Regions from separate parts of the Homo sapiens genome. Here all the other regions are linked to region 2. Evidence: promoter capture Hi-C in 16 types of primary human blood cells and fetal thymus (Javierre and others, 2016). All regions are on one chromosome and are shown on one strand. Each heading gives the region's core, a stretch centred on a gene start or on the middle of the fragment in contact. The rest is flanking DNA. Distances are from core to core; before and after follow the strand shown.

What was found. Contacts are between HindIII fragments. The CHiCAGO score rates a contact against its expected background, and 5 or more counts as called.
Region 1: a fragment that was not itself captured here is called in contact with the fragment with the promoter of KRT14 in region 2 in 4 of 17 cell types (activated CD4 T cells, total CD4 T cells, naive CD8 T cells and 1 more); the score reaches 7.2 in activated CD4 T cells.
Region 3: the fragment with the promoter of KRTAP2-3 here is called in contact with the fragment with the promoter of KRT14 in region 2 in 4 of 17 cell types (naive CD8 T cells, total CD4 T cells, total CD8 T cells and 1 more); the score reaches 6.1 in naive CD8 T cells.
Region 4: a fragment that was not itself captured here is called in contact with the fragment with the promoter of KRT14 in region 2 in 3 of 17 cell types (activated CD4 T cells, total CD8 T cells and naive CD8 T cells); the score reaches 7.0 in activated CD4 T cells.

Annotation. Positions count from the first base shown.
Region 1 is chr17:40,979,328-40,982,527 of GRCh38, reverse strand. It overlaps KRT40 (keratin 40), which reads left to right. Exons shown (of 7, transcript NM_001389244.1): 3 at 65-221; 4 at 1,377-1,538; 5 at 1,618-1,743. It overlaps LOC107985072 (a long non-coding RNA gene), which reads right to left. Exons shown (of 4, transcript XR_001752886.2): 3 at 1,921-2,079; 4 at 1-200. Among named protein-coding and RNA genes, the nearest start is that of KRT40, 3.4 kb to the left of the region's middle. RefSeq lists an enhancer at 1,921-2,522. The HindIII fragment of the contact is 2,975 bases long and covers 1-2,901 here.
Region 2 is chr17:41,585,375-41,588,420 of GRCh38, reverse strand. It overlaps KRT14 (keratin 14), which reads left to right and starts at 1,526. Exons shown (of 8, transcript NM_000526.5): 1 at 1,526-2,111. The coding sequence starts at 1,587. It overlaps LOC124904003 (a long non-coding RNA gene), which reads right to left and starts at 74. Exons shown (of 2, transcript XR_007065755.1): 1 at 1-74. RefSeq lists an enhancer at 2,623-3,046. The HindIII fragment of the contact is 10,096 bases long and covers 1-2,379 here.
Region 3 is chr17:41,058,729-41,061,813 of GRCh38, reverse strand. KRTAP2-3 (keratin associated protein 2-3) reads left to right here and starts at 1,700. Exons shown (of 1, transcript NM_001165252.2): 1 at 1,700-2,574. The coding sequence starts at 1,764. The coding sequence ends at 2,150. RefSeq lists enhancers at 1,381-1,955, 1,956-2,530. The HindIII fragment of the contact is 5,271 bases long and covers 1-2,201 here.
Region 4 is chr17:40,996,625-40,999,557 of GRCh38, reverse strand. It overlaps KRTAP3-2 (keratin associated protein 3-2), which reads left to right. Exons shown (of 1, transcript NM_031959.3): 1 at 1-365. The coding sequence ends at 1. Among named protein-coding and RNA genes, the nearest start is that of KRTAP3-2, 1.8 kb to the left of the region's middle. The HindIII fragment of the contact is 1,100 bases long and covers 806-1,905 here.

The sequences.
Region 1 (3,200 bases), core at 165-2,664, 610 kb after region 2:
GTATCCCCACACTTTGCACAGCGTTCAGCAAAGTAAGCGTTGGATTTCTCTTTTGCTGTGAAAGGTACGAGAGTGAACTGTCCCTTCGCCAGCTGTTAGAGGCTGACATCAGCAGCCTGCATGGGATCCTGGAGGAACTGACCCTGTGCAAATCTGATCTGGAGGCCCATGTGGAGTCTCTGAAGGAAGATCTCCTTTGCCTTAAGAAAAACCATGAAGAGGTAAGGAAAGTGGCAACTCCGCTGAAGGACTCCGAGAGTAACGTACTTACATTGACAGATGATCTGTTGATGTTTGTAAATCGAATTTGGGCAGATGTTGTTTAAGCTGGAATAAAACTACTTGAGGCAGGGCCAGGCATGGTGGCTCACACCTGTAATCCAAGCACTTTGGGAGGCTGAGGCAGGAGGATCACAAGGTCAGGAGTTCGAGACCAGCCTGACCAATATGATGAAACCTCATCTCTACTAAAAATACAAAAATTAGCTGGGCATGGTGGCAGGCGCCTGTAGTCCTAGCTACTCGGGAGGCTGAGGCAGGAGAATCACTTGAACTCAGGAGGCGGAGGTTGCAGTGAGCCGAGATCTTACCACTGCACTCCAGCCTGGGTGACAGGGCGAGACTCCATCTCAAAAAACAAACAAACAAACAAACAAACAAAAACTACTCGAGGCATTATTACTATTCAACCTGATCATTCCAGTGTGTCTCTGATTTAAGGTGTGAAATAACCCCTAGACAGCGCCAGAGGAAGGAATCAAACTCTTCTCCTGCCCTTGCCTTTGTGGAGGAGGTAACTTCACAAATGGCTTCCTTTGGAGGCTTTATGCCACCCCTAGCTCCAGTCCACAGGGTATGAAAATCAGGCTGAGGAACAGACTGTGAAGTCCATTTCAAAAAAGGGATAAAGACTGTGCACTATCTGGACCAGTGTTTTTAAATATTCCGCATTTATAAACTTCTAAAAATCATAAAATATACAGCCACTGATATATTGATAAAGCTAGAAAATGAAAAGCTGAATGATGTAACAAAGTACATTTGCTCTTTGAACGTTTGTTGATGACAATCATAGCTAACATTTATTGACACCTTACTATGTGTCATAATTAACTTTTATAAGTTAATTATGTGTAGATTGACTCTTCTAGATCTCACAATAACTTTCTGGAAAAATGTCCAATTATTATGTCCATTTTACAGACGAAGAAACTGAGGCCCTTCTAAGTGGTGAAAAGAGATTCAGCCCAGGCAATCTGAATCAAAATCTCACACTTTTACCCACTGCTCCAAAAAACAGAAGTAGAATGCCATTGGATGTCAAATGGATTTTTCCCCACCATTCTGTGACATTCTTTACACCATCCCACTTTCAGGAAGTCAACTTGCTTCGTGAACAGCTTGGCGACCGCCTCAGTGTGGAGCTGGACACTGCCCCCACCCTTGACCTCAACAGGGTCCTGGATGAGATGCGCTGTCAGTGTGAAACGGTGCTTGCCAACAATCGCAGAGAAGCTGAAGAATGGTTGGCTGTTCAGGTCAGTACCCAGATTGAAAAAATGTCAGGCTTACAGACTTCTGCCTTTTTTGAATTCTCTAATGGTGTCTGTGTTTCAGACAGAAGAGCTGAATCAGCAGCAACTGTCCAGCGCGGAGCAGCTGCAGGGCTGCCAGATGGAGATCTTGGAACTGAAACGCACAGCCAGTGCTCTGGAAATTGAGCTCCAAGCACAGCAAAGCCTGGTGCGTGAGGCAAAGGCAGTGTCCGTTGTGTCACTGATAAGTCAGGCCCTGAGATGTTAAGCCCTCTTCCATATCCGAGGATCACATTTCCTTGCCTTTCCCGAGTACTGCCGTTTACCCAGCTATTAATAGAAGCAGAAGTGACAGGTCCACAGCTTGTCCTCTAAGATGCCTTACCTTCACTCCTGGGCTTGAGTCTGATGCTGCAGCAGCCTCCAGAGACAGGGAGGGAGAAGCAGAGCTGGAGAGAAACCTCCGGGCCATGGTCGCTTAAGCATTCTGGCAGGTTTTAATTCTCATTTGATTCAGGCCAGTTTTCCAGGCTCACTGTTATATCTAAAACAAAGAATCATTTTCAAACATTTCATCCTACAGTTTCCCAGGATCTACACTTCAACCTTATCCTTCACTGCACCACCCCCCACTCAAGCAACAGGAACACCATGCGTTCAAGATGACATGAACCAGTTCTGGTCAAGCACCACTGTGTGCATGTCATTAGGCCCTGCGGAGAACACCTAGAAGAACAATAGCTGAGCATTCATCCTGTGAGAGGCACTATGCTGATTTAAGGCTCACAGTAACTTTACCGGATAGATACCTTTATCCCATGACACAGATAAGGAAAACTGAGACTCAGATTAAGTAACTTGCAAAGGATGCAATTCTAAGAGGCAAACTTGGAAGCTGAGTTCAGCCAGTTGAATCCCAGAGTCTCTTCTCTCTCTCTTTTTAAATTTATTTTTATTGATATATAATATGCGTAAATTTTTTTTACGTAGATGTGATATTTTGTTACATGCATAGAATGTGTAATGATCAAGTCAGGATATTTAGAGCATCCATCACCTCAAGTATTTATCATTTCTATGTGTTGGGAGCATTTCAAGTCCTCCCATCTAGCTATTTTGAAATGCACAGTGTATTGTTGTTAACTGTAGTCACACTTCTCTGCTGTCCAACATGAAAACATATTCTTTCTGTCTAACTGTATGTTTGCACCCATTAACCAACCTCTCTTCATCCCCTTACCACACATATGCCAGTCCCAGCCTCTGGTATCCAGAGCCTCTTCTCTTAATAGCACTATACTACCCCTCCCTGCCAAGAGCCCAAACTCAATCTTTCCTCTCATATGTTGTGGATAGTCCTTAAGCTTCACAAATATGTCATGTATTGCTGTAGTCATAGTGGTGGTAGTGATAGTTGACACGTAGAACAGTGGCAGTATGGCTGGCACTGTTCTAAATGCTTTACGCACATTAACTCTTTTTTTTTTTTTTTGGACGGAGTCTCCCTCTGTCGCCCAGGCTGGAGTGCAATGGCATGATCTTGACTTACTGCAAGCTTTGCCTCCCGGGTTCACACCATTCTCCTGAGTAGCTGGGACTACAGGCGTCCACCACCGTACCCAGCTAATTTTTTATATTTTTAGTAGAGACGGGGTTTCACCGTGT
Region 2 (3,046 bases), core at 277-2,776:
TCTTTGGTGACAGTCAAGGTGGGGTTGGGGGTGACAGAGGGTCCTGCTTCTCTTCTAGGAGCAGTTGATCCCAGGAAGAGCATTGGAGCCTCCAGCAGGGGCTGTTGGGGCCTGTCTGAGGAGATAGGATGCGTCAGGCAGCCCCAGACACGATCACATTCCTCTCAACATGCCTGCCGGGGTCTGTGGAGCCTAGGGGCTGATGGGAGGGTGGGGTGGGGGCCGGAAGGGTTTGCTTTGGGAGGTTGTCTGGGAGATTGCTGAAGTTTTGATATACACACCTCCAAAGCAGGACCAAGTGGACTCCTAGAAATGTCCCCTGACCCTTGGGGCTTCAGGAGTCAGGGACCCTCGTGTCCACCTCAGCCTTGCCCTTGGCACAGCCCAGCTCCACTCCAGCCTCTACTCCTCCCCAGAACATCTCCTGGGCCAGTTCCACAAGGGGCTCAAACGAGGGCGCCTGAGCTGCCCACACTAGGGATGTTCTGGGGGTCTGAGAAGATATCTGGGGCTGGAAGAATAAAAGGCCCCCCTAGGCCTGTTCCTGGATGCAGCTCCAGCCACTTTGGGGCTAAGCCTGGGCTATAACAATGCCAACGAGGCTTCTTGCCATACTCGGTTTACAAAACCCTTTCACATACATTGTCGCATTGGATTCTCAGAGCTGACTGCACTAAGCAGAATAGATGGTATGACTCCCACTTTGCAGATGAGAACACTGAGGCTCAGAGAAGTGCCAAGCCCTGGGTCACAGAGGCGTAAATGGCAGAGCCAGGACCCACCTGACTCCAGGCTGTTTCCTGGCCTCCATGAGGCCACCTGCCCTATGGTGTGGTGGATGTGAGATCCTCACCATAGGGAGGAGATTAGGGTCTGTGCTCAGGGCTGGGGAGAGCTGCCTGGATTTCTCTTTGATGGGGATGTTGGGGTGGGAACCACGATACACCTGACTAGCTGGGTGTATTTCAGGGATGGGACAGACTTCTCAGCACAGCATGGGAGGTCAGGCCTGGGAGGGCCCCCCAGACCTCCTTGTCTCTAATAGAGGGTCATGGTGAGGGAGGCCTGTCTGTGCCCAAGGTGACCTTGCCATGCCGGTGCTTTCCAGCCGGGTATCCATCCCCTGCAGCAGCAGGCTTCCTCTACGTGGATGTTAAAGGCCCATTCAGTTCATGGAGAGCTAGCAGGTAACTAGGTTTAAGGTGCAGAGGCCCTGCTCTCTGTCACCCTGGCTAAGCCCAGTGCGCGGGTTCCTGAGGGCTGGGACTCCCAGGGTCCGATGGGAAAGTGTAGCCTGCAGGCCCACACCTCCCCCTGTGAATCACGCCTGGCGGGACAAGAAAGCCCAAAACACTCCAAACAATGAGTTTCCAGTAAAATATGACAGACATGATGAGGCGGATGAGAGGAGGGACCTGGCTGGGAGTTGGCGCTAGCCTGTGGGTGATGAAAGCCAAGGGGAATGGAAAGTGCCAGACCCGCCCCCTACCCACGAGTATAAAGCACTCGCATCCCTTTCCAATTTACCCGAGCACCTTCTCTTCACTCAGCCAACTGCTCGCTCGCTCACCTCCCTCCTCTGCACCATGACCACCTGCAGCCGCCAGTTCACCTCCTCCAGCTCCATGAAGGGCTCCTGCGGCATCGGGGGCGGCATCGGGGGCGGCTCCAGCCGCATCTCCTCCGTCCTGGCCGGAGGGTCCTGCCGCGCCCCCAGCACCTACGGGGGCGGCCTGTCTGTCTCATCCTCCCGCTTCTCCTCTGGGGGAGCCTGCGGGCTGGGGGGCGGCTATGGCGGTGGCTTCAGCAGCAGCAGCAGCAGCTTTGGTAGTGGCTTTGGGGGAGGATATGGTGGTGGCCTTGGTGCTGGCTTGGGTGGTGGCTTTGGTGGTGGCTTTGCTGGTGGTGATGGGCTTCTGGTGGGCAGTGAGAAGGTGACCATGCAGAACCTCAATGACCGCCTGGCCTCCTACCTGGACAAGGTGCGTGCTCTGGAGGAGGCCAACGCCGACCTGGAAGTGAAGATCCGTGACTGGTACCAGAGGCAGCGGCCTGCTGAGATCAAAGACTACAGTCCCTACTTCAAGACCATTGAGGACCTGAGGAACAAGGTGGGTGAATGGGCAGCAGAAGGCACCATTCCAGCTAGCTCCTTCTGGGAACAATTCATGCCCCAGGCCCCTGAGACCTTAAGATTTCTCTATAGGACAGAGTCCACCCCAGATCCCTTCTTTCGAGGTCTTGGATGCCCTAAGACTGATCAGTGAGAAGATGCTTTCCCTTCCCCAGCCTCCTCATCCCCTTCTGATCTCAAATCCTCAGACCATGTGAGATCAGTGATTCCTATCCTTACATTTTTTAGAGGAAGCAGTTGAAGCTTCGAGAGGTGCTGTGACCAGCTGCAGGTCACATAGCAAATTAATGGCAGAGCCAAGGCTGGGGCCCTTGTGCCCTACCTTCCAGCACAGGAGGCAGCTACTTGTTCTCCAGCACAGGGGAGGAGTGAGGCTCTAACGGGACCAGGCAAGACATCCAAACCACTCATTAGCTCACTAGTCTGGGCTGTGGCTGCCGCCGCCCATAAGCCTTGGTACAGGCTGGTCCCTCCCCACAGCCAGGCGGGCATGGAGAGCCTGCAGAGACAATTAGTGTGGTCCCTTGATGTGCCCTGCACAGAGAGAGCCTGGCAGGCTTGTGCCCTGACTCTAGCCCCCTCCTCCCTGCTCCCACATTACTTGGGAGCCCTCCCTGCTGGAGTCTGTTGGGCTCTAATGACTTGCATGGATTAGGGAAATTCAATGATGAGGTGGGGAAATCCAACCAGACTCAGGGGCCAATATATCTTCTTATTCTTCCCCTGAGTCCTCTTTTCTAATCCCCTGTGTTAGTTGGGTTTTATCTCTTGAGAAAGTTCCACTTGAAGTCCCATGGCCTGTGAGCTTGAAAAGGAATGTGCATATCTGCAGAGGACTGGCAGGGCTGGCTGATGCAGACAGAAGAGAGGTCAGCTCAGGAAGGAGGGCTAGGGAGCCTCAGATTATTCTCC
Region 3 (3,085 bases), core at 451-2,950, 530 kb after region 2:
TTAGATCCTGTCTAGGCAAGAGTGAAATGTTTCCTTCTTACTGATGTGGCTTGGAAGAGCAAGGTTTCTAACAGCCTATAATTTTAGAAAACAGTATTTCTTAGTACTGTGTTCTTTTGTTAACAAAAGCAGTGGATTTACAGACATATTTCTCTTTTTAGTTTGGCATCTCTGTATACATTCCAAAACAAAGAACAGAATGCTAAACCATGTATCAAGTGAGTACTTATTTTATTTCACTAAAGGGAATAAAACTTTTTAATAACTACTGCTACATGTTATCTATTTTGAGTGACTCCGAGTTGGAAAAAGACTGGGAGACATCACCAGTGTTTCTACTCCACAGAAGACCTGTGGTATTGCTAAATATTTGCCACTCTTTGATCCGTACGACTTTGGAGGAATTCATTTTGTAAATCTGGTCTTCCAAAAACTGTGATGGACTATGATGGATCATAGACTCAAAGGACTTCAAAGATCAGGGATATGATAGACCAAAGGGTGTATTTTTAAAAAGAGAAAACAAAACAAAACACACCTCAGAGGTAAATTTGCACTGAAGACCATCAGCATTCCTTGGACAATGTTATCTTTAATCTACCTTCCAACTCTAAATTTATTTTCTGTATTCCTATTCATCTTTGCTATGGCTGGAAAAGACAAAGCTATTTTATTGGTCACCAGCTAAACTAATTCCCCTTGTCTTTTTCATAATGCCACCTTCCCACCTCATAAACAAACAAAACCCTCAGCCAACAAACTAAAGAAGCTGTGACAGAAAGATAATTGATTCCTTTGTAGATATTGTCCATAGATTTTTAAGTATGTAATACAAAGTGCATATGTCAAAGCAAGAAAGCAAGAAATAGCCCAATTTCAATTTTATTTCTAGGTCAATAATCAGGGAAGGGCATTCAGAAAGGCACAGAATGAATGAAATCCCCATTTAGTTTGACCTTATTGTTCCCAGAAAAGTTCTTTCCCTTTAATTGCTTGATTTATCTTTGTCTTGCCTTACTAAAAGTTATGATTACTATGTGATAGGAAACTATTTGAAAGCTATTTTTCTTTCCTTTCCCCCTCCACCCCCAAATAGTACAGTACCATCTACATAATAAGTGTCTCATAAGTGTTAATGAGTTATAAACCAACTCAGATTACTAAAATAAAATCAGTCTAGCAGCTTTGGTGATGATTTTCTTATAAACAAGGTTAGGCACTGTGTCATTAAACACTGGGCCATTCTTTCCATAGCAGAATCAATACACATCTGCTCTTATGAGCCATTTTGGTTTTTAAGAAATTCTTGCTTGATCTCAATGCCAATCAGAAACCCAGCCTGTGACTCATGAACATTCCAGTCCCATGCTTAAGTCACGGATGGCAGCGAACAAGAGGAAAGTGTGATGGTGGCTGGATTCTTCAAACTTGCACCTTCTCACATGGCATGGCCTGGAAGGACTAGCTGATAGATGAGCAATTGTTCTGATGATATACATGACCAGGTATTCCGTTCTAGGGAAAAAGTAGACAGGTAGAAAACAAAGCATTCTTTAGTGATTTAGGGATCGCTGCCTCAGCAGTTAAATCCAGAGTTCTCATTTCAACGGGCAGCTACAACTCCAGGAAATGACCTCATGTCCTGGGGGTCATCAGCATCCAGCTAGGATATATAAAGGGCCCAGAGTGGAACGAGGACATTCACACCTGAGAACATCCAGCTCCTCTCAACAGCCCAACCCACACCAGCCTCAGACACCACCATGACCGGCTCCTGCTGCGGCTCCACCTTGTCCTCCCTGAGCTACGGGGGAGGCTGCTGCCAGCCCTGCTGCTGCCGCGACCCCTGCTGCTGCCGCCCCGTGACCTGCCAGACCACCGTGTGCCGCCCCGTGACCTGCGTGCCCCGCTGCACGCGCCCCATCTGCGAGCCCTGCCGCCGCCCGGTGTGCTGCGACCCCTGCTCCCTGCAGGAAGGCTGCTGCCGCCCCATCACCTGCTGCCCCTCGTCGTGCACGGCTGTGGTGTGCAGGCCCTGCTGCTGGGCCACCACCTGCTGCCAGCCTGTGTCTGTGCAGTCCCCCTGCTGCCGGCCTCCCTGCGGCCAGCCGACCCCTTGCAGCACCACCTGCAGGACCTCCTCCTGCTGAGACCCCACCTCTCCTCTCAACGCACGAAACATTCCCAGGTGCACAGAAGCTTGTGCAGACTCTTCTACCCCTTCTGGATCAGATGAGAGACTCCACCTTTGCAGCCTAGCTGATCCTCAAGCACGAATTCAACAATAACATCCTATCTATTTCCCCACATAATTATGCAGCTAATCCTGGCCCTCTCTGACAATCTTGAGAAAAATTCCAGCTTTCATCATTCGAATTCCTGGCTTGAAAAAAAAAACGAGTAAATAAAAATCAAAGCTCCTCTTGAATAGAACTCTGTCCCACTGACTCATCACCCTTTTTTCTACTGTTTCAAGGTTCTCAGATGAGATTTTTTTCTTCCAGGATAATACTATTTGTATGCTGTATTTTTGCACTGTAAAAAAAAATAAAATTATATTTCTGGGGAAGCAAACATTTCTTTTTATTTATTGTTTATTGCTCTTCAAAAGCTCATATTTAGCTTACATTACAGCATGCAGAACCAGAAGAACGAAAGGAGAGATTTTCTAAGGGCCATTTTTGAGCTTTAGAATAGGAACAACTCAGGTGGAAGGTCTATAATTTTAATAGCATTTCAAATAAATCTGATCATCTCATGATTCACCTTCATATTTCGAGTCGCAGGTTTTATGGTGATGCTGACGAAATGGTGAGACTACAGTAGGTCTCTGTAAACATAAACTTGACTTATGAATAATTCACACACATGATAAGGGGGAGGAAGTCTAAGCTAAGTTATAGCCCTATTTGTTCACCAATGTAGGAAACTGTACGGTAATTGATGTCAAACAAGACCTGGGAATCCCTAGCCACTGAACATCCTATGCTGGAGGAACCACTATCCCATCTTCTCCATGGTTCCCGTCAGCACCACCATGGCCAGTTCTACTTCCAGTGGAGTGGCTGCTGCTGAGAAGACAGGG
Region 4 (2,933 bases), core at 106-2,605, 590 kb after region 2:
ATGGATGGCTACTTTGCTCAGTGCCCGACAACGAAGAATCCAGAAGCTGTCCCTTCAGTATTCACTTGCCTCAGTAGTTTGCCAGATGTTAAGGTAGACCAGATGACCCAGATATGAAGAACTTACCTTTGGTTTTAATGGGGGAAAAAAAGAAAAGTATTTTTTATGGTTATTTAGCTGAAAAACCATTTGGTTCCTGTGGGCAGGTGAATGAGTTTTATTAGCAAAATACTGTTTCAATCTTTAAGACCTCAGATTACATGTTCTTGATCATATTGCTTCCTGGCTCTTGTTTCTTGTACTGGGTATTTTCATAGAAGAAAATTTCTTGGTGGGTTTTCCAATAAACTATATTTCTCTGGCAAGATGTGTCATTTGTTTATGTTAGTTTTGGGTATATTTCTTCCATTTTAAAAAGGTAAAAACAGGATGATTATTTTAATCTTTTAAAGAAGACTCTATTGGCAGAATGACTAACATTCTTGCTACTACTAACATGGCTTGCTAACTTTTAACAGGTTCTCTTTCATGTTTGCCTTCTCTTCTCTCTTCTTCCTCAGACAAGTGCAATTTTGGTGTGAACCAACATTTATTTATCTACTCTTCACCAGTAAATTATTGATTTAGTCCTTAAAACAGCACTAATGGATAAGAAAAAATGAAGTTTTAAGCGTTATTCAACATTCTGAAAGTCATAAAGTTAATTACTTAGAAAATCAGAATTCAGCCTCTTGTATGTCTGACTCTAAAGCCCAATTTTTCCTACCACATCATAGAACCTTCAATACTAATGAAACCAGAAGCTTAATGAGCACAGTTATGAAATAAACCCAAAATATGCAAGAGAAATAAAACATGTAAGATTCTTTAACAAAATCCACATCGGATTATAATAGAAAAAGAGTACATTGGTTCATAGATTAAAATTGGCAAGTATTCAATTCTAAAATCTGGGCATTTTGAAGGTGTACCTATTTCAACTTCATTTTCTCTTAGAGAGAACTCAAAGTGGTCAACTCTAGTAACAAGGCACCAGGGACATACCTTTATTTGCCACCATACTCAGCACAGATGTTCTACCACAGTAATCAATAGAATGCCAATACTTTTCAGGTGTCTCAGGTTGAGAGCTAAAACTCTGATTACGTATGCTTTAATTCGTTACTTAATTTTATCAACCTACTTAATTTTATCTCATGAAGATTTTTCTTTTCCAAGCCTAGAGAGAACAAGTATATATTATATATATAATACATCCAATACATTTATGTAACACATATAAATATATGTGTGTATGTATATCTATACACAATACATATATAAAGACACAAGTCAAAATCTGAAAATGCATTGAAATAAAACCACAAGAAGACATGCAAGAAACAGAGTAGGACAAGGAAGGGGAGAAGCAAATGCTTTTTAACAAACTTGTTTTAAAATGTCCTCAATGTACCTGTTAGTGTCTTGAGAGAGAAATTTCTCACGGGATTCCATAGGCTTTTTACAGCTCAACCTTAAATGAACAGAACTTAGCAGCCATGGAGTCTATGGGACACTACAGAGGATATTGTCAACAAGAGATCTAGTCCATTCACTCATTCATTTGTCCATATTTCCTGAGTGTTTGCCCTATGTCAGGCATCATATTGATGCCAGGAGTAAAAAGATAAAAGAAATGCTATTACCTCAAGTCTCAAGTGCCCTCAAGTCTCTCCCAAATCTAGTGAAGAAGAAAGACAAGTTATCATAATAATAATTGCAATGCTGAGGGATTCTGCTGTGACTGGGAGGTGAGCAGCATGGCATGCAAGCATACAGAAAGAATAACTAAAACCCTGATTTGGTGATTCAGTGTCAAAGGTGAGAAATAGCTACGGAAAGCCTCTGAGCTATCCAGTCTAAGCTTTAAAAGATGAATAGGCAGCAGGAGAGGTAGGGAACAGTTGTTCCAGACAGAATAGCAGCTTAATAAATCATGGAGGCAGCGGAAAGGTTGGTGTCTTTAAGCCACAGGAGGTAGTTGGGAATGACTGGATGAACAATGCATTGAAGAGGGTGAGGCAGAGAAGACAGAAATGCAAAGACCCAGACATAAGGGGCTCCTCAAAGCAAAGGGGTTTGGACTGAAACTTTGAAGCAATGAAATATTTCAAGCAAGAGACCAATATAATCATGTTTTGCTTCTGTCTCTTTTCATTATTAATCTTTGATTTACATCTGCACTGTCCCAGATCCCTCCATTGACTATAGAAAGATATAATTAAAACTGGACTTCTTGGATGTGTGAGTGTGCGTGTGCGTATGTGTGTGTGTGTCTAGATTTTTAGCACCCCGAAAATCTACCATCTCATCAAGAATCACCATGTTTTTCCTACATTCACTTAAAGAAAAAAGATACGCGTTGTTTTTAAAAATAAAATGCTTAGTATCTCTGACACATAGTTTAAACTTCCATTTCTAACCACATAAAAGGTAGCTCAATCCCAATAGGTCCTATATTTAGTTTTTAACACACTGGCTCCCGAACCATCTAAGGCAAATCATCTCACCTCTCTATGAATCACTGTCATCATTTATAAACAAAGGAGAGTAATTCTCAGGTCTCTTAGACCACTGCAGAGAAAATACATTTTAATAAAGTGCTGCAAGTCTTGTCAATAAAAGAGAAGAGCTTATTATAATAAACTTGTTGCATTACAACTGTTTGTAATCTGTAACCTTGTCTTATTTATGATTAGAGAAACACAATGTGCTGCATAAACAGTAATAGTTGCTCTAAGCTTTTATGGTGAACTCAAAGTAATATTGTATCCCAGGTAAGAAGCTGATAGCTTTCTGCCATGAAATTCTAATCCTGAGGGTCTGCAAGCCATGTTTCCTTTGTAATGTTTCCCTCAAAATAATTTTTTCTTTTATTTTTTGTCTTTTACTCT